Regions from separate parts of the Homo sapiens genome. Here all the other regions are linked to region 1. The links are contacts of gene promoters, found by promoter capture Hi-C in blood cells and fetal thymus (Javierre and others, 2016). All regions are on one chromosome and are shown on one strand. Each heading gives the region's core, a stretch centred on a gene start or on the middle of the fragment in contact. The rest is flanking DNA. Distances are from core to core; before and after follow the strand shown.

What was found. The method cuts DNA at HindIII sites, captures the fragments that hold promoters and counts their contacts. A CHiCAGO score of 5 or more calls a contact.
Region 2: the fragment with the promoter of CC2D2A here is called in contact with the fragment with the promoter of BOD1L1 in region 1 in 9 of 17 cell types (monocytes, M0 macrophages, total B cells and 6 more); the score reaches 13.4 in monocytes.
Region 3: a contact is called between a fragment that was not itself captured here and the fragment with the promoter of BOD1L1 in region 1, in 1 of 17 cell types (total B cells). The highest score is 6.7, in total B cells.
Region 4: a fragment that was not itself captured here is called in contact with the fragment with the promoter of BOD1L1 in region 1 in 1 of 17 cell types (naive CD8 T cells); the score reaches 5.1 in naive CD8 T cells.
Region 5: a fragment that was not itself captured here is called in contact with the fragment with the promoter of BOD1L1 in region 1 in 5 of 17 cell types (total B cells, fetal thymus, total CD8 T cells and 2 more); the score reaches 9.9 in total B cells.
Region 6: a contact is called between a fragment that was not itself captured here and the fragment with the promoter of BOD1L1 in region 1, in 3 of 17 cell types (naive B cells, total B cells and monocytes). The highest score is 6.7, in naive B cells.
Region 7: a contact is called between a fragment that was not itself captured here and the fragment with the promoter of BOD1L1 in region 1, in 1 of 17 cell types (naive CD8 T cells). The highest score is 5.8, in naive CD8 T cells.

Annotation. Positions count from the first base shown.
Region 1 is chr4:13,626,181-13,629,592 of GRCh38, reverse strand. BOD1L1 (biorientation of chromosomes in cell division 1 like 1) reads left to right here and starts at 1,868. Exons shown (of 26, transcript NM_148894.3): 1 at 1,868-2,248. The coding sequence starts at 2,006. MIR5091 (microRNA 5091) reads right to left here and starts at 1,728; the gene lies at 1,636-1,728. RefSeq lists enhancers at 978-1,708, 1,712-1,871, 1,709-2,439 and a silencer at 2,012-2,211. The HindIII fragment of the contact is 7,220 bases long and covers 1-3,412 here.
Region 2 is chr4:15,468,581-15,471,856 of GRCh38, reverse strand. CC2D2A (coiled-coil and C2 domain containing 2A) reads right to left here and starts at 1,975. Exons shown (of 37, transcript NM_001378615.1): 1 at 1,800-1,975. The HindIII fragment of the contact is 6,808 bases long and covers 1-3,276 here.
Region 3 is chr4:15,260,244-15,263,733 of GRCh38, reverse strand. It overlaps C1QTNF7-AS1 (C1QTNF7 antisense RNA 1), which reads left to right. Exons shown (of 6, transcript NR_125911.1): 2 at 270-337. Among named protein-coding and RNA genes, the nearest start is that of C1QTNF7-AS1, 170 kb to the left of the region's middle. The HindIII fragment of the contact is 157 bases long and covers 2,102-2,258 here.
Region 4 is chr4:15,598,986-15,602,298 of GRCh38, reverse strand. It overlaps CC2D2A (coiled-coil and C2 domain containing 2A), which reads right to left. Exons shown (of 37, transcript NM_001378615.1): 36 at 2,593-2,770; 37 at 747-1,062. The coding sequence ends at 874. Among named protein-coding and RNA genes, the nearest start is that of FBXL5, 55 kb to the left of the region's middle. The HindIII fragment of the contact is 1,414 bases long and covers 544-1,957 here.
Region 5 is chr4:15,400,662-15,404,275 of GRCh38, reverse strand. All of the region lies in intron 1 of C1QTNF7-AS1 (C1QTNF7 antisense RNA 1), which reads left to right. It also overlaps a transcript of C1QTNF7 not described here. Among named protein-coding and RNA genes, the nearest start is that of C1QTNF7-AS1, 25 kb to the left of the region's middle. RefSeq lists enhancers at 2,867-2,926, 3,057-3,176. The HindIII fragment of the contact is 161 bases long and covers 2,274-2,434 here.
Region 6 is chr4:15,450,256-15,453,718 of GRCh38, reverse strand. No RefSeq gene overlaps it. Among named protein-coding and RNA genes, the nearest start is that of CC2D2A, 18 kb to the left of the region's middle. The HindIII fragment of the contact is 2,320 bases long and covers 756-3,075 here.
Region 7 is chr4:15,236,313-15,239,903 of GRCh38, reverse strand. All of the region lies in intron 2 of C1QTNF7-AS1 (C1QTNF7 antisense RNA 1), which reads left to right. Among named protein-coding and RNA genes, the nearest start is that of C1QTNF7-AS1, 190 kb to the left of the region's middle. The HindIII fragment of the contact is 8,921 bases long and covers 1-3,591 here.

The DNA.
Region 1 (3,412 bases), core at 619-3,118:
TTAATTAGGTTATAAGGTAAACATTTAACATTCTTAACAAACCTTTTTTTTTCTTGTTTTTGAGAAGGGTCTCACTCTGTTGCTCAACCTGGAGTGTACTGGCCCCATCATGGCTCACTGCAGACTTGACTTCTTGGGCTCGGGTGATCCTCCCACCTAATCCTCCCAAGTAGGTAGGACTACAGGTGCACGCCACTACACCGCCTAATTTCTTTTATTTTTTTGTAGAGGTGGGGTCTTGCCATGTTGCCCAGGCTGGTCTTGAACTCTGGACTCAACCGATCCTCCCGCCTCAGCCTCCCAAAGTGCTAGGATTACAGGCGTGAGACACTGTGCCCAGTGACAAAGATTTTGAACTTGAATGAGCTAAATCTGCAGTTGCAAATTTTGACAAAAACATAATTTAACCACCTGATAACAAAAATAAATCTTATCCAAAACTATTTATGAAAATGAAAAATGTTTAGATATTCTCCAAACTTTCAGTATATCAGGTGAAAGGTACACCTCATTGAAAAAATCAGGTCTAATTCATAGTCATTTGGTATCTTGGTAAAACCTATCTGGTATATTTCCCAGAATCTGAAAGAGTGAAAAAATAAGGATTAAGTAAACAAATCCTTTGGCAAGCCAGGTGGTTTTCAGCTCTTTGCTTTCCATAAAATAGAAGGAGGGCCTAATTGAAGTCAGCTCATAGATAATCAAATCTAATTTTTTGAGGTCAAGAATTGAATGATATTGCTACAACAAAACTCTTCCATTCCTAGGCACAGTACTTGTTTATATGAACAAGGTTTCTCAGGGCACACAGCTATAAAAATTACAAATAGGAATAGAATTGATGCTCAACCCTTCTTTTCCTACTAATAAGATATATTCAGCCACAGATGTAGGAACTTTAAAAAGCAACAATATGCATTTTTCAATAAAGTTACACACACTATTTAGTAATTATGAAATTTTCTAATATTTATGTTGCTTTGACCACGTACTAATAATAATTTCAAAGATGATGCAGTCCAAAAGCAGGTGATTTGCTAGCTGTGTAATCTTACTCAACATACTTAATTTATCTGAGCCTTGGTTCCCTGATTTGCAAACTGGGGACAGTAATCAGACCTAGCTCTTAGTGTTTGTCCAAAGATTAAATGCGTTAATACATGTAAAAGCACTTAACGCCACGCTTGGTACATAATATGTGCTATAGATGTTTTACCTGCTATAATCATAGTAATCAATAGCAAATCTCCTAAAAATAAAAGCCTGTCGATTTGTCTTCACAGATAGGAAGAACGGGCTGGAGGGATCGGATCTAATCCACAGGCACACTGCCAGAAACAAGGGACCCCCACGGGGAAATGGTATGTGCAGGCAGAAGAGAGACAGAAGGAACTTGGAGCTACCTGCTGGGACAAGAATAGTGCAGGATCACAGGCTAAGAACGAAGAGGGTTGGGCGAAGTTAGAATGAGCAGATCCACGTAGGGTTCGCATTACAAATGTCTATGGATCTCTATGCACTGCTCCGGGAAACTGGAGCAAGAGAGGCAGGCCTAAAATGCCGTCGCGGATGAAGCGGGGCCAGAAACGCACTGCCCCCGCTCAGACCTAGGGCCCCAGGTGTCGCGCGGGTCGAAGCCCTAACCTCCAGGGACTCCAGACCCCTGCCGGTGACCTAAACCCCACAACCCGCGACCAGCACAGTCTTGTCGTCTCCGTCGCCACAGTCGCCGCCACTTCCGGCGCAGCTCGGCCTCGCGAGGGCGCTTGCGCCCGGCGACGGTCGAAACTGGCTCTTCGCGGCCTCCGTCGCCGGACTTTCGTCAATGTTGTCACCGTCTTTTCCTCCTTTCCCCCAGTTCCCTTTCACTTCCGGGGTTGCTCTGGATCCGCTGGTTCCGTAACAACATCCCGTTGGCTTCCCTCAGGCGGCGGGACCAGTGCAGCCGCCGCCTCCCAGGATCGTCCGCCGGTCAGGGCCCTTGCCCTCCCCGGCACAGGCCACCATGGCCACCAACCCACAGCCGCAGCCGCCTCCTCCGGCGCCGCCGCCTCCCCCGCCGCAGCCGCAGCCGCAGCCACCGCCGCCGCCGCCGGGCCCCGGGGCTGGCCCCGGCGCGGGCGGGGCGGGCGGCGCGGGTGCGGGCGCCGGGGACCCGCAGCTCGTGGCCATGATCGTGAACCACCTCAAGAGCCAGGGGCTCTTCGACCAGTTCCGCAGAGACTGCCTGGCCGACGTGGACACCAAGGTTAGGAGCGCGCCGGGTTTGGGGGTCTGCGAGGGAAGGGGAGGACCCAAGGGCGCGCTTCTTTTGCAGTGGCTTCCTCTTGGAGCTGCAGCTGTGTGCCACGGACTGTGCAAAGCACAGAGTGTTCATTCCTTAGCGTGTCCTTTGGTTCGTTTTACCGACTAGTGTTTAAGTACCTACTACGTGCCAGTCATGGTTTCGGCACAGTGATTACCCCGGTCTGATGAGCAAGACTAAGGCATTGTTCTTACAGGAACTGGTTTGGAAACAGTGGCGCTAACAGTAGCCAGTTTTGTATTCATTCTCATATCTGATGATTTTACTTTGTATCGAAGTTATGTTTGCCTTCTTTCTTGAAGGTTTCTGGGCGGTAAGGGCCTTTATCCTTTGGAGAAATGACTAAATGGTAATTGAATCAAGTTATGTGTAATATGCTTTGCTGGACATCGTGGGGGTGGGAGCGCAAAGATAAGGAGGCAAACCTGAGACAGGACTTTAGTATTGTTTCTAGCAGTGATTGCCTGATTTAGGTAACTTAGGCCATGTCACCATTCTAAGGTAAGAAGGGACAGGAAGGTGGGGTAGAGAGAACCGAGTCATTCAGTGGAGAAAAGATGCAGGAGAGGTGACAGCAGATACTGAAGTGGAGAAAGGACAGGAAAGAGAGCAGATTCAGGAGAGTAATGTAGAGAAGGGAAAGGACAGCAACAAGGTTCCCTGTCCAGAAAGAGAGGCTGGAAAGGGGAAGGGATTTTGTACCAAATGTCAGAGTGAAAGGGACATTAGCAGGAACAAGTAAACTTAGCTGGATTGGCAAAGAATTAGCCAAAGACACCAGGAAAGAGCAGTCAGTGAGATGGATGGAAAACCACAGTACAGTCTAGAATTCTGGAAGCAGAAAGCATGTTGGAAAATTAACTGGTTTGTAGGGGTTGTTTTTGTCTGCTTGTTAAATCTGGTTGGGTCCATTGGATTGGAGTTTTGATGAAATGAGGGTTTCCTTTTTTTTTTTTTTTTTTTTTTTTGAGACAGAGTCTCGCCCTGTCGCCAGGCTGGAATGCAATGGCGTGATCTCGGCTCACTGCAACCTCCGCCTCCCGGGTTCAAGCGACTCTCCTGTCTCAGCCTCCCAAGTAGCTGGGATTACAAGCGCGTGCCACCACG
Region 2 (3,276 bases), core at 726-3,225, 1.8 Mb before region 1:
GGAGGTTGAGATACAACGCATCTCAACTCCATATTGGTTGCTTAAAAAATCATACAATATATATGCCCTACTCCAGGATGGCAAAAACATGGGTTTATAGGAAGAGTGGTCCACATATTTCTTTGCCAAGGAATATGTGGACCTGAGTTCCAACTTCAGCTTTATTTATTAGCTGTGTGATCTTGGAACAATGCCCTCCCTTCTCTGAGACACGTTTTTTTTTTTTTTGTCTGCAACATTGCAATCATACTTCCTACCTTGAAGGATGATTAATTTATAAGGGCTAAATGATGAAATGTGTGTAGTAAAATGCCTAGCACAGGCTGGGCTCTCAATATTGGTAGGTTTTGTTACTAAGAAAAAGTGATTGTGGGGAGGGAAAGTGGAAAAAAGGAATGAGGAGGGAAAAGAGCTTGGGGGATAGAAGAGGAGTCATGAGAAAGACCTTAGGTGATGTTCAAGCCCACCCACCTTCAGCTCCAATCTTCAACCCCCAGCTACCATAACTCATGTTTCATGTCTCCCTCCCTTCAGCCAGGCCCAGGGCAGTTGCCTTGCTGTTTCCATTTATGGTGCTTCTGAAACCTCCTGCACTTCTACCCATGAGTATTTTCTTCCTCACACCCTGAGAACATTTTTCTGTTCCCTCCTGGAGCTTGGACACCTGGGGAGGTGCCACATACATTGTTTTGGAATACATTATCTTATTCTACAAGTTATTCCAGCTGCAGTTTCCCTTAGCATAAGGTTAGTGACCAATAGCTTTATAGAATCATTTAATCAGCTCGATATAATGTACACTGGCCTTGAAGAGTACACATGAGTACCATATTTGAGCTGTGTTACGTGATATATGACCAGTGCATTTACATGATGTGCTAAGTACTGGAAGCCCCTCCCTGGATGTCATCCCACTGTCCTCTCAGTGTTTTTATAAATCTCTTATGGCACTTAGCTCATTGTACTCTTATCATGTGTTTATAGGTCTGTTTTCCCAGCAAATTCTGAGCTTCTGACCTAGTCTAATTTATGTTTGCACACTCTAAACTTAAATTCATTGCCTGGTGCATTGTTGATGCTCCATAAATGTTTGAATGAATGACTCTATAAGTGAGCTCTAGGATATATATATATATATATATATATATATATATATATATATATATAGAGAGAGAGAGAGAGAGAGAGAGAGAGAGAGAGAGAGAGATTTCATGCTGGTGCTGAATTTATTTGCAGAAAAGGTTATATGAAAATGCAGTAGCAAACATATTTCTTATTTGACTTTATTAGCTTTTCATACCACCTCTTTGCAATGAAGGGAAACAAACAATCAGCTTAAGTTGTAGCCAGTACATTTTCTTGAAGTCTTTGGAAAGCACAGCAACTCTTAGCACTGTGGTTAGTAGCCCTTTCTCTGTCTCATACCAAGAAAAGTGTATTTTGCAGTAATTAGTGCTTCTCCCCTTAAGCCAGTTTGAACTAAAAGGCCCATAAATGCAACACGCAGCTAATGTTTCACAGAGCTTTGGTCAGAGAGCATTTTCACTCAGGACTTGTGATGAACTGGACTTACATTTCCTGCAAACCAGATACCAGATAGCAGCTCAAATCAAAGCTGCCAAGTAATGGTCTATGTTCCCATTTCAGAAAGTAAAAACATAAATAACGATGAGAGCCCCTAAATTTACAATTCATTAAATCCAGTCTCACGGTATCCTGGAGAGGCTGAACTTCAAGCCGGGTAACTGAAAACAGGAAATCACTGTTGCAGCCTAAAGTCCGGTTAGGGACTGATTTACCTTAAGAAACTTTACAAAAGGCACTTTGCAGATTCTGCATTCTAGGATGGAAGTGGAGAGAGACGGTGCTGTTGAATCTTTTAAAAGGGTCCGGAGGGAAAGGCTGAGTGTTGGAGATGCCCCTGGGCTCCTCCCTGGGAAGCTGCAGCCATGTCTTGGAGCAAAAACACCAGCTTAGCAACCCGTTCCTAAGGAAGGTCACTCGGTAGCTTTTTTTTTTTTCCTTTAAAGTGACAGGCTACTTCCAGTAGTGGAGTACAAGCATGCTGGGTAAGCAGAGACGCACAGCCTGCAGTAGAAGGACGGAGAGAAATCAACATGAGCAGCACTGGAAATTAGGTCAAGCCTTAAGAGCTGCCCCTCCCTCATGTCATCCGGTCGTCTTGCATTTCCAATGAAGAACAGGCTCAGAGGTGGGGGGATTTAGAATCTTAAAAGGTCGTCATTACATGGTGAAGCTGTCTAACGTGGCAGCAGCAAAAGCTCTGTGGAGGTGCTGCAGAGTACCAACAAATGTTGCACTTGAGTGTTTTCCAGTTAAAAGTGGAAGGTTGAACGCACAAGTTTAATCTTTGCCTATTCTCTGAATCCCACTGCAATTCCTGAAAACGGATATAAATGTTATGGCTCAAAAAAGTTGGAAAAAAAAAAAGAGGGAGAGGTAGGAGGCAAAGTAGCTGGAAGAGTAATAGAATGAATGGAGCCAAGGAAACACACTCCAATAGACTAGTGTGTATGTGCACATGTGTTTGTGTGTATTTGTGTCTGTGTGTATGGTGTGTGTATGTTTGTGTGTATGTGTATTGACTGTATCTTCTTATTTTCTGTATTCTTGATGCTCTGGCATTTGGAGCCTTGATCCTGGAGAAACTGATTCTCCTATGTTAGCTAATTTCTAGAGATAGCAAATGATTCCCCTGAAATATGCAAAGTCTCCTTTGATATACAAGCCAACCAATCCAGAGCCCACACAACCATCTCCATTATCAAACTCTCACACACTAAGCCAATATTCCTCCTGTCCTAAGTCACCCCAGGTCCAGATACCAGACCACTATAGCCCAGAGAACACCACGATTATTCAAGCTATCCACTCCTAAATTTATGCAGCACCCTACCCTGCTTCACCTATTCCTTCCTGGGAAAACCCTAGTAAAGGCTCTGTGCTGTACTCTGCTGTCTCCGTTCTGCCTTCTGACCAACATTGGTTCTTCCCTATGTGGTCCTGTGTGGCATGCCATGTTCTATGATTTGAATGTGTCTTCCCAAAAGCATGTATTGGAAACTTAATCCCTAACACAATGGTGTCGGGAGGTGGCACCTAATGAGAGGCAATTAGGCTGTAGGGCTCTGCCCTCATAAATGCATTAATGCCATTATTGCAGGAGTGGATTCCTTATAAAAGAATGAATTTGGCCTCGTTTTCTCTCTTTCTCTTTCTTGCTCTCATGTTTTCTTGCCTTGCACCATAGGATGG
Region 3 (3,490 bases), core at 931-3,430, 1.6 Mb before region 1:
ATCTGGTATGTATGCAGTGGGGCTGGGTCATGGGTTTTCCAGCAGTGCTGGGGTCTGGTGTGCATGTGGAGGCACTGGATCCAGGGGCTGTTTGGTGGTGGTGCCAGGTCCAGAAGCCAGGGGCATGTATAGCTGCTCTGCATCCAGGTTAGTATAGAAACATGATTTCTGGGCCATTCCATCAGCTGGGATCTGTGTTGTTGAAGACTGTGGGAGTCTTTGGCAGAGAGAGCTGATAGGGGTTTTCTATTTTTATTTTCCTCTATAAGGAAAAGCCACATCCAAGGGGATTCCTTTTGTTACTGAGTTGTGCCAGCTAGGGGACAAGGTGACACAGGTAAGATACTTCCTACACTTTTATATGTGGCCATCTCAGTTTTAGTGCTTGACTGTGTTGCTCTAGCTTCTTAATTTTACTTTACAATTCTCCCAGAGCTATTTTTATCCATGAATGTTGTTATTGTTTATGTGGAGTATCTGTTTGTTTGGGCTGCTATAACAAAATACAGACATACCTCAGAGATATTGCAGGTTGTATTCCAGAGCACTGCATTAAAGTGAATATTGCAAGAAAGTGAGTCACACAATGGTTATGGTCTTTCGGTGCATATAAAAGTTATGTTTATACTATACTGCAGTAAATTAAGTGCAAAATAGCATTATGTCTAAATAACAATATACGTACCCTCATTAAAAGATACCTTACTGACTGGGCACAATAAAGTACTGTGGCTTATGCCTGTAATCCCAGCACTTTGGAAGGCTGAGGTGGGAAGACTGCTTGAGCCTAGGAGTTTGATTCCAGGCTGAAAAACACAGCAAAACACCATCTCTACAAAGAAAAAGAAAATTACAAAAAATTAGCCAGGTGTGGTGGCACATGCCTGTAGTCCCAGCTGTTCAGGAGACTGAGGTGGGAGGATCACCTGAGTCTGGGAGATTGAGGCTGCAGTGAGCCATGATTATGCCACTGCATTCCAGCTTGGGTGATAGAGACCCTGTTTCAAAAATAAAAAATATAAAATAAAAAAACTCAAAACAAACAAAAAATACTGTGTTGCTAAAAATTGCTAACAGTCATCTGTGCCTTCAGTGAGTCATAATCTTTTTGCTGGTAGAGGGCCTTGCCTCTGTGTTGATGGCTGCTGACTCATCAAGGTGGTGATTGCTGGAGGTTGGGTTGACACTGGAAATTTCTTAAAATAAGACAACAATAAAGTTTGTCACATTAATTGACTTATTTCCAGAAAAGATTTCCCTGTAGCATGCAATGCTGTTTGATGGCATTTTACCCACAGTAGAACTTTTTCCAAAATTGGAATCAACCCTCTCAAACTCTGTTGCTGCTTTATCAACTAAACATATGTATATTTTACATTTTTTGTTGTCATTTAAACAATGTTCACAGCATCTTCACCAAAAGTAGATTCCATTTCAAGAAGCACTTTCTTTGTTCATTCATAAATGCAACATGGATGAGACTGGGCACGTTCAGGGTGGTATGACCATAGACTATAAGTGCAACTTCATACCCTTTCAAGTTTTATTATGAGACTGCGCAATTCAGTCACGTCTTGAGGCTTCATTTTAAATTCTAGTTCTCCTGTTATTTCTGCCACATCTGCATATGCTTCTTCTGTTGAAGTCCTAAACCCCTCAAAGTCATCCATGAGAGCTGAAATAAACTTCTTCCAAACTTCTGCTAATGCTGATATTTAGACATCCTCCCATAAAATGAATTTAATGGCAGCTAGCATGGTGAATCCTTTCCAAGTTTTCAGTTTACTTTGCCCAGATTCATCAGAGGAATCACCATCTATGGTAGCCATACCCTTATAAATGTACTTTTTAAATAATATTTGAGAGTAAAAATTGCTCCTTGATCCATGGGCAGCAGAAAGGATTCTGAGTGAGCAGGTATAAAAACAACATTAATCTTCTTGTACATTTCCATCAGAGCTCTTGGGTGATCAGGTACGTTGCTAATATGCAGTAATATTTTGAAAAGAATATCTTTTCTTTTTCTAAGCAGTAGGTCTCAACAGTGGTTCTAACATATTCAGTAAACTGTGATATAAACAGATATGCTGAAATCCAAGCTTTGTTGTTTTATTTATAGAGCACATGGAGAGTAGATTTGGCATAATTCTTACTGGCCCTAGGACTTTCAGAATGGTAAATGAGCATTGGCTTCAACTTAAAGTCACTAGCTGCATTAGCCTCTAATAAGAGAGTCAGATTGTCCTTTAATTAAAGCTTTGAAATCAGGCATGACTTCTCCTGTCTAGCTATCAAAGTCTTAGATAGCATCTTCTTCTAATATAAGGCTGTTTTATTAATATTAAATATCTGTTGTTTAGTGTAGCCACCTTTGTAAATATTCTCAGCTAGATCTTCTGGATAACTTGCTGCAATTTCTCCTTCAGCAATTGCTGTTTAATATTGCAATTTTGTTATGAAAATAACTTCTTTCCTTAAACCTCATGAACCAACCTCTGCTAGCTTACAATGTTTTTCTACAGTTCCTTCAGTCTTCAGAGAATTGAAGAGAGTTAGGACTTTGCTCTGGATTAGCCTTTGGCTTAAGGGAATGTTTTGGCTGGTTTGATCTTCTATTAAGATCACCAAAACTTTCTCCATATCAACAATAAGGCTGTCTCGCTTTCTTATCATTTGTGTTCACTGGAGTGCACTTTGAATTTCCGTCAAGAACTTTTCCTTTGTGTTTACAACTTGAGGCTGTTTGGCATGGGCTTTTGGCTTATCCTGGCTTTTGACATGCCTTATTCACTAAGCTAATTGTTTCGACATGTGACTCTTCCTTTCACTTGGACACTTGAGGCCATGCTGGGTTATTAATTGGCCTAATTTCAGTATCATTGTGTCTCAGGGAATAGAGACACTCAAGAGCAGAAACATAAATGGGGGAACTACTGGTCAGTGGAGCAGCCCGTGCACACACAACATTTATCGATTAAGTTTGCAATCGTATATGAGTATGATTTGTGCTGCTCCCAATCAATTGCAATGCTAACATCAAAGATCACTAATCACATATCACCATACAAATATAATAATAATGAAAAAGTTTGAAATATTGTGAGAATTACCAATATACGACATAGTGACATGAAGTGAGAATGTGCTGTTGGAAAAATGACAGATAAACTTGTTCGATGCAGGATTGTCACAAACCTTTAATTTGTGGAAAAGGTAATATCTGCCAAGCTCAATAAAGCAAAGGGCAGTAAAACAGGTATGCCTATACCATAAGCTGGGTGGCTTGTAAACAACAGAAATTTAATTCTCACAGTTTTTGAGACTAGAAGTCTGATATCAGGGTCTCGGCATGGCCCAGCTCCTGGTGAGAGTTGCCTTCTGGATGGCAGACTGCCTACTTCTTCTTGTGTCATCACATGGTAAATGAGATGAATTATCCATCTGGAATCTCTTTTATAAGGGCTCTAATACAAATATTGAGGCTCCGCCC
Region 4 (3,313 bases), core at 1-2,500, 2.0 Mb before region 1:
CTAATCAGCCAGCAACATCGAGGCAAGACCCTCCATCAGCAAAAAATTACAACTTACTGCAGGCTCAGATGATCATTAGCACTTTTGAACAATAAAGTATTTTTAAATTAAAGGTATGTACATTTTTGAGATAATGCTTTTGCACGCTTAATACACTATAATACAGTGTAAACATAACTTTGCACTGGGAAACCAAAAAAATTGGTGTGACTCATTTTATTGCAGTATTCACTTTATTGCAATGGTCTGGAACCAAGTGCACACTATCTCCGAGGTATGCCTGTACATGCAAACCTGTGGAAGATGAAGTAATCTTGCAGTCTTGGATATTTATTTGTTTTGTTTATTTGGAGAGAGGAGGAGGAGTAGCAATAAAAACTGGTAAACATTCAGTTCAGGCAAATTGTCTTAGTGTTTTCTAAAGATGAAGAATCATTTGATGGAATATAACTCACTACTGCTTTTTATTTCAACTAATATTTGAATTAAACACAGCAAAGGAGGAGGAACTCTAAAGGCTCTAATGATGCTCTCTTTAAAGCTTTACCTTGCTCTAAGGTAAAACTTGTTAAGTTTCTCTCACTTTCATTCCATTGCTGTTAATATTTGCCCAAGCAAAAGGTAAGTAAGTACAAAGGAATAGAGGCAGGAAGCTCATAATATATCGTACTGTGGGTAGTCTCAATTGAATTTCAGGGTCAAGTAGCAGACACAAGGCAGACTGCTAAATAGAACACTTTGCACAGTTTGAAAACAGTTGATAATTTTATTATTTGCCAATAATATGTTCTTCTGATGTGATGCATATAATTTAAAATTTTCTCATATCCTAAGTGTAGTTTTTACATGATACAGAAAGTACAGTGAAAAAAATTACCTGTTGCGTATAAGAGAGGCAACATAGATCCAAACAGACAAAACATTTTTGGGGTATGGGTGTATGTATACAGCTAAAGCAAATTCAACATTAGGAACATCAATATTATGTACTCCAGTACTATACACAGCGTCAATTAAAGGCTTCACTTCAGAATAAGGCATGTGAAGAGGAAATCCAGAGAACTGAAGGGAAAAAACATTTGTAGTCATTAGTGAAGTTTGAAGATTTAATACATTTTTTCCTACGTAAATGTATGCAATTAAGATAAGTGTTCTGGATCTCAGTTATTTGCTTGTGTTTTTCTACTCAGCTTTTTATTAGCAATACAGAAAATCGAGAGCTGCTTAATATCCATTTTGTTTTCCTTGCATATAGGTGTATAAGCCACCTGTTAGTCACTCCATCACTGTTCCCTCTTTTTGAAAGTACCTAGTATGCATCGTAACCATTGTAATTCCAGATACATAGGTTAAACTAACAAATACATTTCTTTTTTCTTTTTTTTTTTTTTTTTTGAGACAGGTCTGACTGTTGTCCATGCTAGACTGCAGTGGCATGATCATGGCTCACCACTGCAGCCTCGGCCTCCTGCTGGGCTCAAATGGTCCCCCCACTTTAGCCTCCTGAGTAGCTGGGACTGCAGGCAAGTGCCACCATCCTGGCTACTTTTTGTATTTTTTGTAGAGATGGAGTTTTGCCATGCTGCCAAGGCTGATCTTGAACTCCAGGGCTCAAGCGATCCGCTGCCTCAGCCTCCCAAAGTGCTGGGGTTACAGGTGTGAGCCATAGCGCCCGACAATAATTTTCGTCCCCTTGGCTACAATGATTGATCCACGGGGATGGGCAAGTGATCAAAGGGAGTCTCAGAGGGAATCTTGGGAAACTTGTTAGGAATAATGGCACGTGATGTTCTCCTGCTTTGGGTAGTATGTGCGCAGATGTGAATTCTGTAAGTGTTCCAGCATTTGCTTCCATGAGGAAACCCAGTCTCAGGATGATGCCATCATACGGAAGAGGAGGGCAGAATGGGAGGACTTGCAAAAGAGTGGGACAGCCCTGATAGCTACCCTCTAAGCTTTACTTAAGCCAGTAGATTCTCTATTGCTCAAGCCTTTTTGAGTTTTCTGACACTTGAACTGAAAATATCCTGGCTGAGAACCTGCCTTATAAGTTAAAGGATAAATTTTACTCAGTGAGTGATCTAATTTGACCTTCACACTGTTTAGCTAGTAAGGCTTACTGTTAAGTTTTAGTTACGAGCCTGCTTTGTAGGTTTTATTATCCAGCTATAGCATGTGAACATAGCAGCAGGCAGTAAAGAGGGTATATCGTCTATTAATAACCACCTTTCTTAGCAATGAAAAGCAATCAGTATAAAACCATATCCTTAAAAAAACTGCTCTAGAGTGTTTTGATCCTTATGCACAGTTGTGTCTAACATGATTTAGCCAGATGTTTTCATTTTTTTGATACGTAAATGTATTTCATAAAAGGTATTTTTCATGGGATACTTATATGAAAAATGGTGGTATTTTGCTATTTCATGATTATTGAGGTTTAAAACTTATGATCACAGTTTTTAGTTTATGCTGCTTTAAATATGTACTTCTGGGAGCAACGTGGGTCTTTTGATTCCAGAAACCTATTATTGGCTAATTTCCAATTTGAAACAAGGAAATCCACAGTCAGTTTAGGATCCATTTGTAACTTACCCTGTAGTCTCCCAGCTGTTTTAGCAGTTCTGCTCTGTGGTCATCTTCTACATCTTCTCCTTGACTTTTTTCTAACAGAGGCAAGAAGTGACGCAGAGTAGAGGTACAATACCTATTCCACCGAGTCAGATGGCGTGGCCTCCAGTCCATGATTTTTTCTTTTAGTATTTTTTCAATCCTGTTCACAAAACATAAATTCCATTTTTTGGTGACTCACTTTTCCCTTGTTAAAAAATGTATGTAGTATGTAGTGGGGATTCAGATGATTGTATAACTATATTTTTGTTGATGGAGTTGTGATTATCCAGGCATAGTTAATGTCTAATAATGGGCTACTCCCTGGGGATTCAAAATTAACATGCAGTCCTGTCCTTAAGGGTTGTATATGAGTTGAGATGGGAAATAGTCCTATAAATAGAAAGTATGTGTATCCTAAGAGCTATAACAGATGCTTGAAATGTAACACAGAAGAGGGAGTACTGAATGACTTGGGGATAGCTGAATTCAATACATGCAGCAAAAGTTTATTATTACTAATTTTTTTTAAAGGCAGGATCTTGCTCTGTTGCCCAGGCTGGATTGAAGTGGTACAATCACAGCTCACTGCATCCTCAACTCTCGGGCTCAAGTGAACCTCCCACCTCAGCCTCTTTGGTAGCTGGGACCACAGGTGCATGCCATTATGTCTGGCTAATTTTTTTTTCTTTTTTATAGAGACAAG
Region 5 (3,614 bases), core at 1,105-3,604, 1.8 Mb before region 1:
AACTCTCTTCTAGCAAGCACTCGCTGCTTCCATGAATGGCATAGAAGGAGCAGCTCATGGTTTTGGTCTTTTTAAAAATATATATAAAAACATCTATATCTATATGGATATTTATTTTAGCCAGCTTGTTATATAACAAAAAATGGGAAACAATTTAAATGTCAAGTTAAAGAAACTACTTAAATAAACTAAGGTGAATCCATTTGACTAAATGCCTAAAATAGATTCATTGTAAAGAGCTGCAAAACAATAAGTACATTATTAGTACATGATATATTTGTATATGCATAGAAAAGTACTCTAGGAGGATACTGAACTAAAATATATCGATAGTAGTATTTTTATGAATGTTAAAAATAGAGGACATTTTTGTTTTTAAAATTTAGGTATTTTATATCATTTCATAATACAGAAAAAAACCTGTTTGAACAAAACATAAAGAATACAACTATTTTATTGGAGTTGGGCAATTCTTGGAGCACAGCTATATTGCAAGCAGTTTTAGTTGTTACACCATTCAGAAATCACACCATTTGTAGTGGGCTGAATAGTAGCCCCCTCAAAGACGTGTCTACCCCAAACCTGTGAATGCAAACTTAATTTGAAATAGGGTTTATGTAGATGTAATTAAGGATCTTGAGATGAGATCATCCTGGATTAGGGTGCACCCTAAATCCAATGTATCCTGAGAAAAGAAGGGGAAAAGAGACAGAAAAGAAGGTGAGGTGATGACAGAGGCAGACATGGGAATGTTGTGCCTACGATCCCAGAAACCCCAAGGATTGCCTGTAGCCACCAGAAGCCAGGAGAGAGGCAGAGGATGAATGACCTTGCAGAGCCTCCAGAAGGAACAAACCCTGTCAAAGCCTTGATTTTGGATTTTTGATCTCCAGACCTGCAAGAGAATAAATTTCTGATGTAAACCACCCAGGTTGTGGTAATTTGCTAAAGCAGTCCTGGGAAACTAATACAGCATTACTAGAGTAAGAGGATGAGACAGAATGAGACCAACATTGGACATCCAAAATGAATAACACAGAGCAAAATTGATTGCTGACTCCAAGAGGGAAGGGCTGCGCTGCCTGGGCACATTCTTCTGAGCAGAGCCGACTGCTGGGCTTGCATAGTATTTTGGGGAAGCATGGGACTCAGAGACAGGCAGATTTTCAGGCACCTAAGTAGCTGACATGATCTGTAGAGAGTGATTATTTGGGGGAGATTGTGGTGATTTTGTGAAAATGTATCTGCTTATCATAAAAATTTCAAGGAATTTTATTAAAAAAAAAAAAAACAGAAAAAAGCAAAGCAAAACAAACTTTCACCTCTCAGAAATCATTTTGCCAACATTTGATGAACATCATTCCAGATTCTCTGAGGCACAGGTTTAGCCAGAAGCCTTGCTGGATATAATTTTACAAAAATAAGTTCATACTACGCATGCTATTTTTATAAAAAATGATTGAATGTGAGGTTACTTGAATGTATCAGAATAAAAATAAACTAGAATCCAACTGAAGGAATTGCTGAACTTCAGATATTTCTAAGGTTAGATGACAACTATGAAAAACAATTCCAGAATTTAGTGTCATTTTGCTTTTTAAAACTTTGTATGTTTTAACTTTATACAATATTTATTTATCTTCTGCCATGAAAGAGGAGGGTTTTATTTATTTCATTTTTCCCTTCCACCCCTAGCCTCCCAATTTTTTTCAGTTACATTATTATTTTTGGATTGCCTGGAATTATAACATTTATATTCTTTTCTGTCAAATAATTCCCACTGTTGCTTAGTCTTGATTCGGTTTTGTAAAAGATCTAATACTTGCTCATGTCCTTATTTGGTGGATTCTCCATTGCTGGGTGTTTAATTTTGATTCATGTCTTGCTATGCTAGATTTCATCATCAAATACTTTTCAAGAAGGGCTTTGTTAATACAGTCCTTGAATTCTTACATGTTTAGGAATGCCTGCCTGTTTCTTTTATAGTTATAGCATAGCTTGGCTGAGTGAAAGAAAAAAACCTCTTGGGTCACCTTGTCCCCTTAGAACTTGGTAGAGGTTGCTCTGCTATTTTCTGGTGTTGAGGATTGTGGTGGAGACTAAAGTAACCTGCCAGGCTCCGCTTGTGATATCTGTTCTCTAAACAACACATACAAGACATTTTTCCTTGAATTTTCACAGTCCATATCTTGATGTTACCAATCTTGCTTATTTTTCCTGGGATATGGTGTTCCCTTTACATTTAGAGAAAGCTTTTTTAAACTCAAAAAGCTTTCTTGAATTGACTTTAAGTTTTTTCCTGTTCCTTTTTTTCTGTTCAAAATACCAATTTGGGTATGTCAGCCTCCCTTTTGCTTCAGTTTGTGTTGTCTTGTCTGTAATCATTTTTATCACACTGTTTCTTTCTTTCTCATTTCGTGTGGTATCTGAAGCTTTCCTGTGCTTTCAATAGCATTTATCTGTTTTCTGTTGACTTTGAAGTTGACTTTCATGTCTATAATTGTTTTATTTCATTGATTTCCTGAGCTCTGCTACTTTTTAACTGGTCTTCATCTTATTTCTTTTCTGATCATTTCTATTTCGTTTTTAAACTTTCTTTTCTGAGAAACTACGATGTTGATTCATTTAAGACTGAAGAGAACTGATCTCTGTGTTCTCTGGTGGTGGATCATTTATGATGTATGTAATTTTGTATCTGCCTTCTGTTTTTGATTTTTCTACTTGTTTCCCCCCTCTTGCAATACCCATGCTGGGACCTTTGCCTGGCTTTGGTACTGGTGTCATTCAAATGTGATGAGATGCCTCCAGCTATTTGGCCAACAACAGTGCAGAGGGGGCTTGCAGCATTCAGTTAACCAGGCCCCAGTAGGTTTGTGGTTTCTGTTCTTCCTACTCAGCTGGCCTTGATGAAACATCCCCCTCAGGTTTTGGTGTCCGGGAGGCCAGTGTGGCTCAGGTTGAAGCACTTAAAGATGCAGATTTTGTTGTGGCTGCAAGGTCGCTCCTCCCCACACGCTCCTCATTCCTTTCCACCCCAGACATGGTCTCCTCATCAGAGACTATCCCTACACAACAAAAATGATATGTTTTCCCAGTTCCTCCTCATTTATTTGCCACTCCCTTCCCCCTCGCTATTGTGCAACATGGAAATAGCTCTCTAAAGGAACTATTCTGACTTCTTCTATGTGTGGTATGCAGCACTGGGGTGCGCCCGCTAGTATTTCCGGTTCTGCCCTCCTCTAAGACACTTGGCAGGATCACCCTTCCTCGTCTCTAAAATTAGGCCTGGCTAGAAGAATTGTGTGGGCAGAAAACATGAATTACCTACATGTCCCCTTTCCCCTCCATGGTGAAATCTGAAGCCTTATGCTGTGATGGGGGTATCGGGAAATGGTGATGGTGGCTGGGTCCTGAGGGCCCACAATGAACAAAGACCCTGATTGCTCCATAGTGAGCATGTAACATAAAGGCTTTTGTATTTATGCATCAGTACATAAACCTTTTTGCTGTTTGAAGCCACTGAGATTTGGGATTTGTTGGTTAGTGCTGCCTAACTTAGCCTCTTTGATTAATACAGGGCAAGAAAAGCCAATAATTTCTATAACAAACATTAG
Region 6 (3,463 bases), core at 666-3,165, 1.8 Mb before region 1:
TGTTGTAATCCATTGGGTTCATAGTTCTGGACTAAGAAAAACTCAATAAAATGATGTAAACTCAAGACTAATTTCCCTCCCTGTTCTAGTTAGGAAGAAACAATTTAAAAACATATAAACTAGTATTACTTGGTGGTAATCTTGCTTTAAAAAATCCTCTGGAATAGACATCCAGGTACGCCACCAGGAAACTTTAAGAATGATATCGTGTTTTACACTTCAACTCCTAAGAGTTTTATTTCTCTCTCCTTAGACATTTTCTCTGCAATTTTTGGAAACAAAATAATATGCAACTAGCCTAAGAGCATACATAAAATATTTTATGTAAAATGAGTACAATGTTTATTGTAAAAATTAAAAATAAAGGTCAAAAGAGTAGAGATTTAAAATTCCCCATTAATATTTTAATTTAGACTTTTTCTATGCATATGGGCAAACAGACTTTAAAAATGAAATGAGTACTGAAAATATTCCTCAGTCATCTACTTTGTTTAGTTAATATTTTGTGAATATCTTATGGTGCCAATACATTTCCATCCTCTTTTTTTTAAAGACAGGGTTTCCCTATGTTGCCCAGACTGGCCTCAACTCCTGAGCTCAAGCAGTCCTCCCCAGCAGCTGGAACTACAGGTGCAAGCTCTTGTGCCTGGTGGGGCATCCTCATCATTTTTTATGACTCTGTTTCATTGGATGAGTGTATCACAGCTCATTTCACCCATGTTGAGGCTATTTCTCAATTTTCCATATTGCAAGCTTTGCTGCAGGGCTCTTTCTGCAATTAAACCTTTGCACACATTATTAATTATTTTCTTGGAGTAAATTCTTAGAAATAGGAGACTTGGTGATTTTTGTATCTTAGAAAACATTTTAAAAAATCCTGGCTATAGTAAAAGAGAATTTGGATGAGGGCACAGTTTCTTGCTCTTCCTGTACACCTTCCAGGATGGAGTCTCTTTAACTTGGGATTCTCACAAGGGAAGAGATATCATACCTGAAATGAGGAGCAGCTATGGGGTCATTTCTGTAAATAAAGGTCAGTTGGAAAAAGTAGATTTGGGGGGCTGTGTAGACTCTCTCACCATGACAAGACTGTACAGATATGGTTCACAAGTGGTTCTCAATTTTGACCCCCCAGGAGACATTTGGCAATGATGGGAGATATTGTTGCTTGTGATGACTCACGTGGTTGGGTGGAGATGCTACTAGCATCTAGTGGGCAGAGGCCAGGGATGCTGCTAATGTCCTATGATGCACAGGACAGCCCTTAAAAAAAGAAGGATCTGGCTCAAAGTGCAAGATTCCTACCAAATTTAGGAAACAGTGATGCAGAGCAGAAATAAAAAGGGATCAATGAGTCTCTTGAAAACCATGGTACAGCACTGCAAATTTTATGTTTTCTTTTCTTTCAAAAGAGTCTTCAGTTACCCAATATATTTGGCATGTCTCAGGCTGATCTACAAACCACATTAGGGAACACACAAGGCCTGTGGAATGTGTGGTCCTACTTGCTCCTGGCTTCTGTTAGGATTAATCTTGACAAGAATGTGTAGTGTGTATAGAGGAATTTAGACTGCCTGGATTTTTCTAAGCATGATAGTACAACGATGATGCTAAAAGATTGCCTAGGTTCCTTTTGTGGAACTAAACCAAATGCAGAGGGTCAGCATCAATCCTTTGGGGCCAGTCTCTGTTCCTTGGGCAGAGCAAAGTAGGTTGTTATATTTGGGACTCCTTAGAGTTTGCCGAGCTGCATGTTCTGGCCGCACTGAATATTTTGATCATGAGTAAGCCAGTCATGATTGTGACAGGCTTAGCTCCCAGCTAAGGTCAGAGGAAAATGATGTTTGCTAGGATCAAAGGAAGATAATTGTGGATATTGCATTTCCTCCATAATGCAATGATCTTGCTGTGAAAACATGTCTTAAAGAAGAGGCCTTGAGAGGCAGGGGAGTGCATGTGTGTGTGCTCATGACAGGGCATGGGCATTGGAGGTGGATGGGCAGAGCTAGAATATCCCACATTTATTAAGGCTTGTCATGGGCAAATTGCTCAATTGCTCTGAGCCTCAGTACTGTTACCTCTAAAGGGGTAAGAAGAGTATTTAACTCATGATGAGCTGGAAAGCTACTAGGTTAGAATCTTGAACTCCTAAATCTCCACCAGCTGTTTGTTGCTGTTGCAAGTTTAGGAGAGGGACTTAGGAGGGACACTGTGGCAAAAACCCTCTGTTCATCAGTCCAAGGACTTCACTCCAAGATCCCATGCAATTTTTTTGTAAGTGGAGCTGGGCCACATCTGAGACTCAAGGGTTCCTTGTGCATAAATTACACAGCTCTGGAAAAATGTTCCTTCTGCTGTATGCATTCAAGGAACCAGTAAAAACAGGAAGCCAGTTTTATTGCATAAGCTGTGTGGAGTTTTAGAGAGACTAGAGAAGGAAGAGATCTGGGAGGGGAGCCCTGTGCTGGTTGATTTCCGTTGCTCCTACCCTCTCTCCTGGCTCCCATCCATCTTCTATCCCTGTCTGTTCTGAGTTTTGCCCAAGAAGTTCATCTCTGTGCACTGCATCACCAAGACTATCTGGGCACCTGGAGTCATGGGCTTTGACCAGTGAGGGGTATAAATAGGAGACTGAAAGGTAGAAGAGGGTGGTCAGGGGATTCACAGTCCTGGCTTCTTCCCTACTTCTGGCAGTGGCTGAGCTCTTCTGCAGGTGTAGTTCCTGTAGGCTGGTCCCTCTGCCAAGTCTCCAGTTCTTCACTGCACTTTGCAACCACCACTGCCTCTCCTCCTTTTCAGGATTTGGGATGGTGAAGCATTCCTGCTGTTGCTAGTCCTTGGATACTTCAGCATCCCTGCATGGTTCTTTTCACCCCACCTGCACCTTTAATACAGTTCTTTCATTTGACCTTCCATAGTGAAATCCTTTTGAAAGTGTTATGCTGCCTTCTGCCTGAACACTGATAGGCACATCCTGGAGAGAGAAGAACCCCTAGAGAACTTGGTATGTGGCCTTGAGAGTCTTTGAACTTCTCCATTCTGATGCTGAAGCGGCATCCCAGAACTTGGGAAGCTTCCATCCCAACGTCCATACAAATGCTACTTTTCTTTCTTTTCTTTTCTTTTCTTTTCTTTTCTTTTCTTTTCTTTTCTTTTCTTTTCTTTTCTTTTCTGTGTGTGGGTGTTTTTTTTTTTTTTTTTTTTTTAAGAGAGGAAGAAGGTGAGAGTGGTACTGAATTCTCTCTAGAGGTTAGAAGAATGCGCCACTGACAGGGGCTTTTCCTGAGGATAAAATAAAGTACCATGCTGAAAGGATCCAGTATGGTGCCATTTACTAGGCACACAGTAAATGGTAACTGCTGGTATCATGAGACACTGACTGGTGATCTCTCAAGGAAACAAGAAGGAAAACATGAGGTCAGCAATGTAGTTAACAACTGAGAGTAGCTTTTTAATCTCTCCT
Region 7 (3,591 bases), core at 672-3,171, 1.6 Mb before region 1:
AACTGGCTCTTGGGCGTTCACTTAGCAGAAATAGAACTTTGGGAAGTGTCAAAAAGCATCTTTAAAAAGATAAATAAAGTCTGTGACCAACACTAGATTTCAGATCTGAAAGCAACTTCAGAAGCCAACAAGCCAACATCTTCATTTTATAGATAAAGCATGACAGGAGAGACCCAGGGACTTGGGCAACGCCTCTCGCCAATGAGGGCCAGAGCAGGGCTGGTGGATCAGGCCTCCTGACTCTGCCCTTGCCATTCAATCTGGGCCCTTTCGGGGGCAACCCATAGGAAATAACCGATGTATATTTCAGACAAATTCAAATCAAGTTCAAACAATCAAATATCTGAAGAGCTGCCCTGTCCCAAGGGTCTTTGACCACACTCTTCTTCTGTCTGGGATGCTCCTCTTCCCCTGGTTCACCTGGCTGGCTCCTTCTCGTCCGACAGATCTCAGCATAAATGCTGCATCCACGGAAAGACCTTTGAACGTCCAGTCTAAAATTGATCCCCTATTATTACCTCTCATAGAGTCCAGTCTTTCCTTCATACATTTAGCAGAGTTTTTTAGTAAGTGTACTTGTCTATTTCCTCTCTCAACCAATGCCCTTTACAGTCTATGCAATCAAGGACCAAGTCTGTTTTCTTAACTCCTCTGTTAAGTGCCTGGCATGTGTGAGGGCTGGGTGTTCTCCATTTGTCCCCCAACCCAAACACTCCAGTCTTCGTCCTGCCCTGGACGTGGGAAGCTGACCTGCATTGACTGCATCCATAGATTCCTATGACCTCTGGCTTCTGGTTAGGTTCTGCCAACAAGAGGTGCAGGTGGGAGATGAAAGGGCAGAAGAGGGAGGTCTGTTTTCATCCTTTTGCTCCGTCCCATGCAGGTTAGCAGGCTGCAGTGTGTAAGGTGGAATCCTTCTATCCCAAGCCACAGATTCTGTCTGGGCTGTCTCCTAGAGTTAACTTCTCCTTCTTCCTGCCCCTTTGGAGTGGTAGAGGTGGTAATGGCTCCCCTCCGTGGCTAGCCGTAGTTAATGCACCAAATCATTGTTTTATTTTAACCTCACCCAAACCTTTGGAAATATGTGTATCATTTATTAAATGTTTCTCAGGGACTTCATCCTAATATGCTTTCTTTGTCTTGCTGAGTCTCTAACAGATGCAATAGATGTTTAATAAGTTTTCGTTACATGTATTAAAATGGAAGAAGGATCAGATGAATTTCATAAGAGCTCCAGGGTGGAGAACTGAGATCACTGGGTAGAAATCAGTGAAACAGGCTAGTGGCATGTTTGAAGGAGAAGACATCAGAGAAATGTGAAGGCAATTGTCAAGGAAGGTGAATGGCTCTTGTATTGAGATTGCAATAGATGCTTGCTGAATGAAATAGTTTTAGCCATTACCATGCTGCATAGATCTTGTTAAAGTTTGCTTTTTAGGTGGCATCTAAAAGGGTGTGTTTGGGGATATAGTTTCCTGAAGCACGTAGAAGCGGTGTTTGGATTCAAACTCCATGAATGGCACTATCAAGGCCAGTTCTGGAGAAGGCAGAGCTGCCATTGGCTCCAAATGGTAGTTGTCCTGTTCTGACAGCCTGCCTGATCTTGGTGTCCAAGTGAGTCTTTGGGGCTCATCTACATACAATACAGGTCAGTTTTTCCTTCTCCCCTGATGAAAAACAAAAAGGCTGGACTAAGTAATTTGCACAACCTCTTTCAATTCTAAAATTCCCCAGTTCAGTGTTTCCATGATGTGAACTGGGTATGGTGTGACTTGGGAATTCTTACAAAGGAAGACAAGAGTATCAGGAGTGTATTTTGCCTTGAGTGGGTGGAGGCATCTTAGTGGCTGCTAAAGCTGACATTTGTCAGAACTCTGCTTCACCCTTTAACCGTAGACTCTTAGGTCAGTCAAGCCTACCCACACACCACGTGGCCAGTGTCCACCCACAAGCATTTCCAACTTGCAGGCAGGGATGGAGTTTCCCTCATCATTGTACTCTCCAACATGGAAACTGGCATGCTGAAGGTGCTCAATGAAATGAACATTCAGAGAATAGAGGAAATTAATGTTCATGGCAGAATTCCCTGGCTTCTCCTGGTCACTGCCTTTAAGACTATTTTGATTCTGAATTTTCCTGGCTCCTAAGCCCTTTTGACTAAATGTTCTGTTCCTGGCCCCATATTTTCTGCTTGGAGCCAGTGGCAGCTCTGCCTTCTCCAGAACTGGCTTGGTAGTGCCATTCGTGGAGTTTGAATCCAAACACCGTTTCTACGTGCGTCAGGAAACTATATCCCCAAACACACCCTTTTAGATGCCATCTATAAAGCAAACTTTAACAAGATCTTCAAGTAATGAGCAAAATGGGTCTCCCTCTTTCCATCTCACCTAATTCCTGATCTTTGCTTGATCACTAACTTACATTTTCTTAACCCCTACGTGAAAGAACAATGGTTTTCTGAGTAATAAACTGTTTAGAATATCAACACATTCTCAGGAACAAAAAACCCAAAATTAACTTGTTCTAAGAAAATGTCACAGACCCCTCCTGTGGCAGTAGTTGTTCAATACATTTAGTAGTAAAAATATGCCATGTGTCCATCAATTTCAATTTCCTTTCATCTTTTGGTCACTGAGCTATTTTTATCACAACACTTTCATTCCAAAGATGTATTTTTTCCCCTTATATCTACCAATTCTCCAATTCTCCAGACACCAGCTGGGTCCCCTACATTTCAATTCAATTTTTTTGCCAACTACCAAGAGTTAGCATACACCTCTTAGTTAGAGCTCAGTCCCATAAGACAGCTCCCACTTCAGACACTAGTCACAAGTCCTGAGCTCTCTATACTTCTAATAGGCTATACATCGGGGGTTCCCATGACCCCCTTCTCAGGTTTAATAATTTGCAGAACAGCTCACAAAACCCAGGGAAACATTTCGTTTATGTTTTCTCGATTTTTTTTTTTTTGAGACGGAGTCTCGCTCTGTCGCCCAGGCTGGAGTGCAGTGTCACGATCTCTGCTCACTGCAACCTCCACCTCCTGGGTTCAAGTGATTCTCCTGCCTCACCCTCCTGAGTAGCTGGGATTACAGGTGCACGCCACGATGCCCAGCTAATTTTTGTATTTTTAGTAGAGACGGGGTTTCACCATATTGGCAAGGCTGGTCTTGAACTCCTGACCTCGTGATCCGCCCGCCTCGGCCTCCCAAAGTGCTGGGATTACGGGTGTGAGCCACCGCACCTGGCCTCTGGCTTATGATAAAGGCTACAAACTCAGAAACAGCCAATGGAAGAGGTGCATGGGGCAAAGTATGGGGAGGCACACATCTGAGTGCACCACCCTCCCAGTACCTCTATGCGTTCACCAACCTCGAAGCTCTCTGGGCCCCGTCATTTAGCAGTTTTCACGGAAGTTCCATTTTATGGGCATGACTGATTCAATCATTGGCCATTGGCAACTGAATTTATTCTCCAGCCCCTTTCCCCTTCTCACGGGTCTGAGGGTGGTACTGAAAGTTCCAGCTTTCTACTTATGCCTTGGTCTTTCCTGAGGCTAGGCAGGGGCCTCCAGCCTCCAGCCACCAGCCA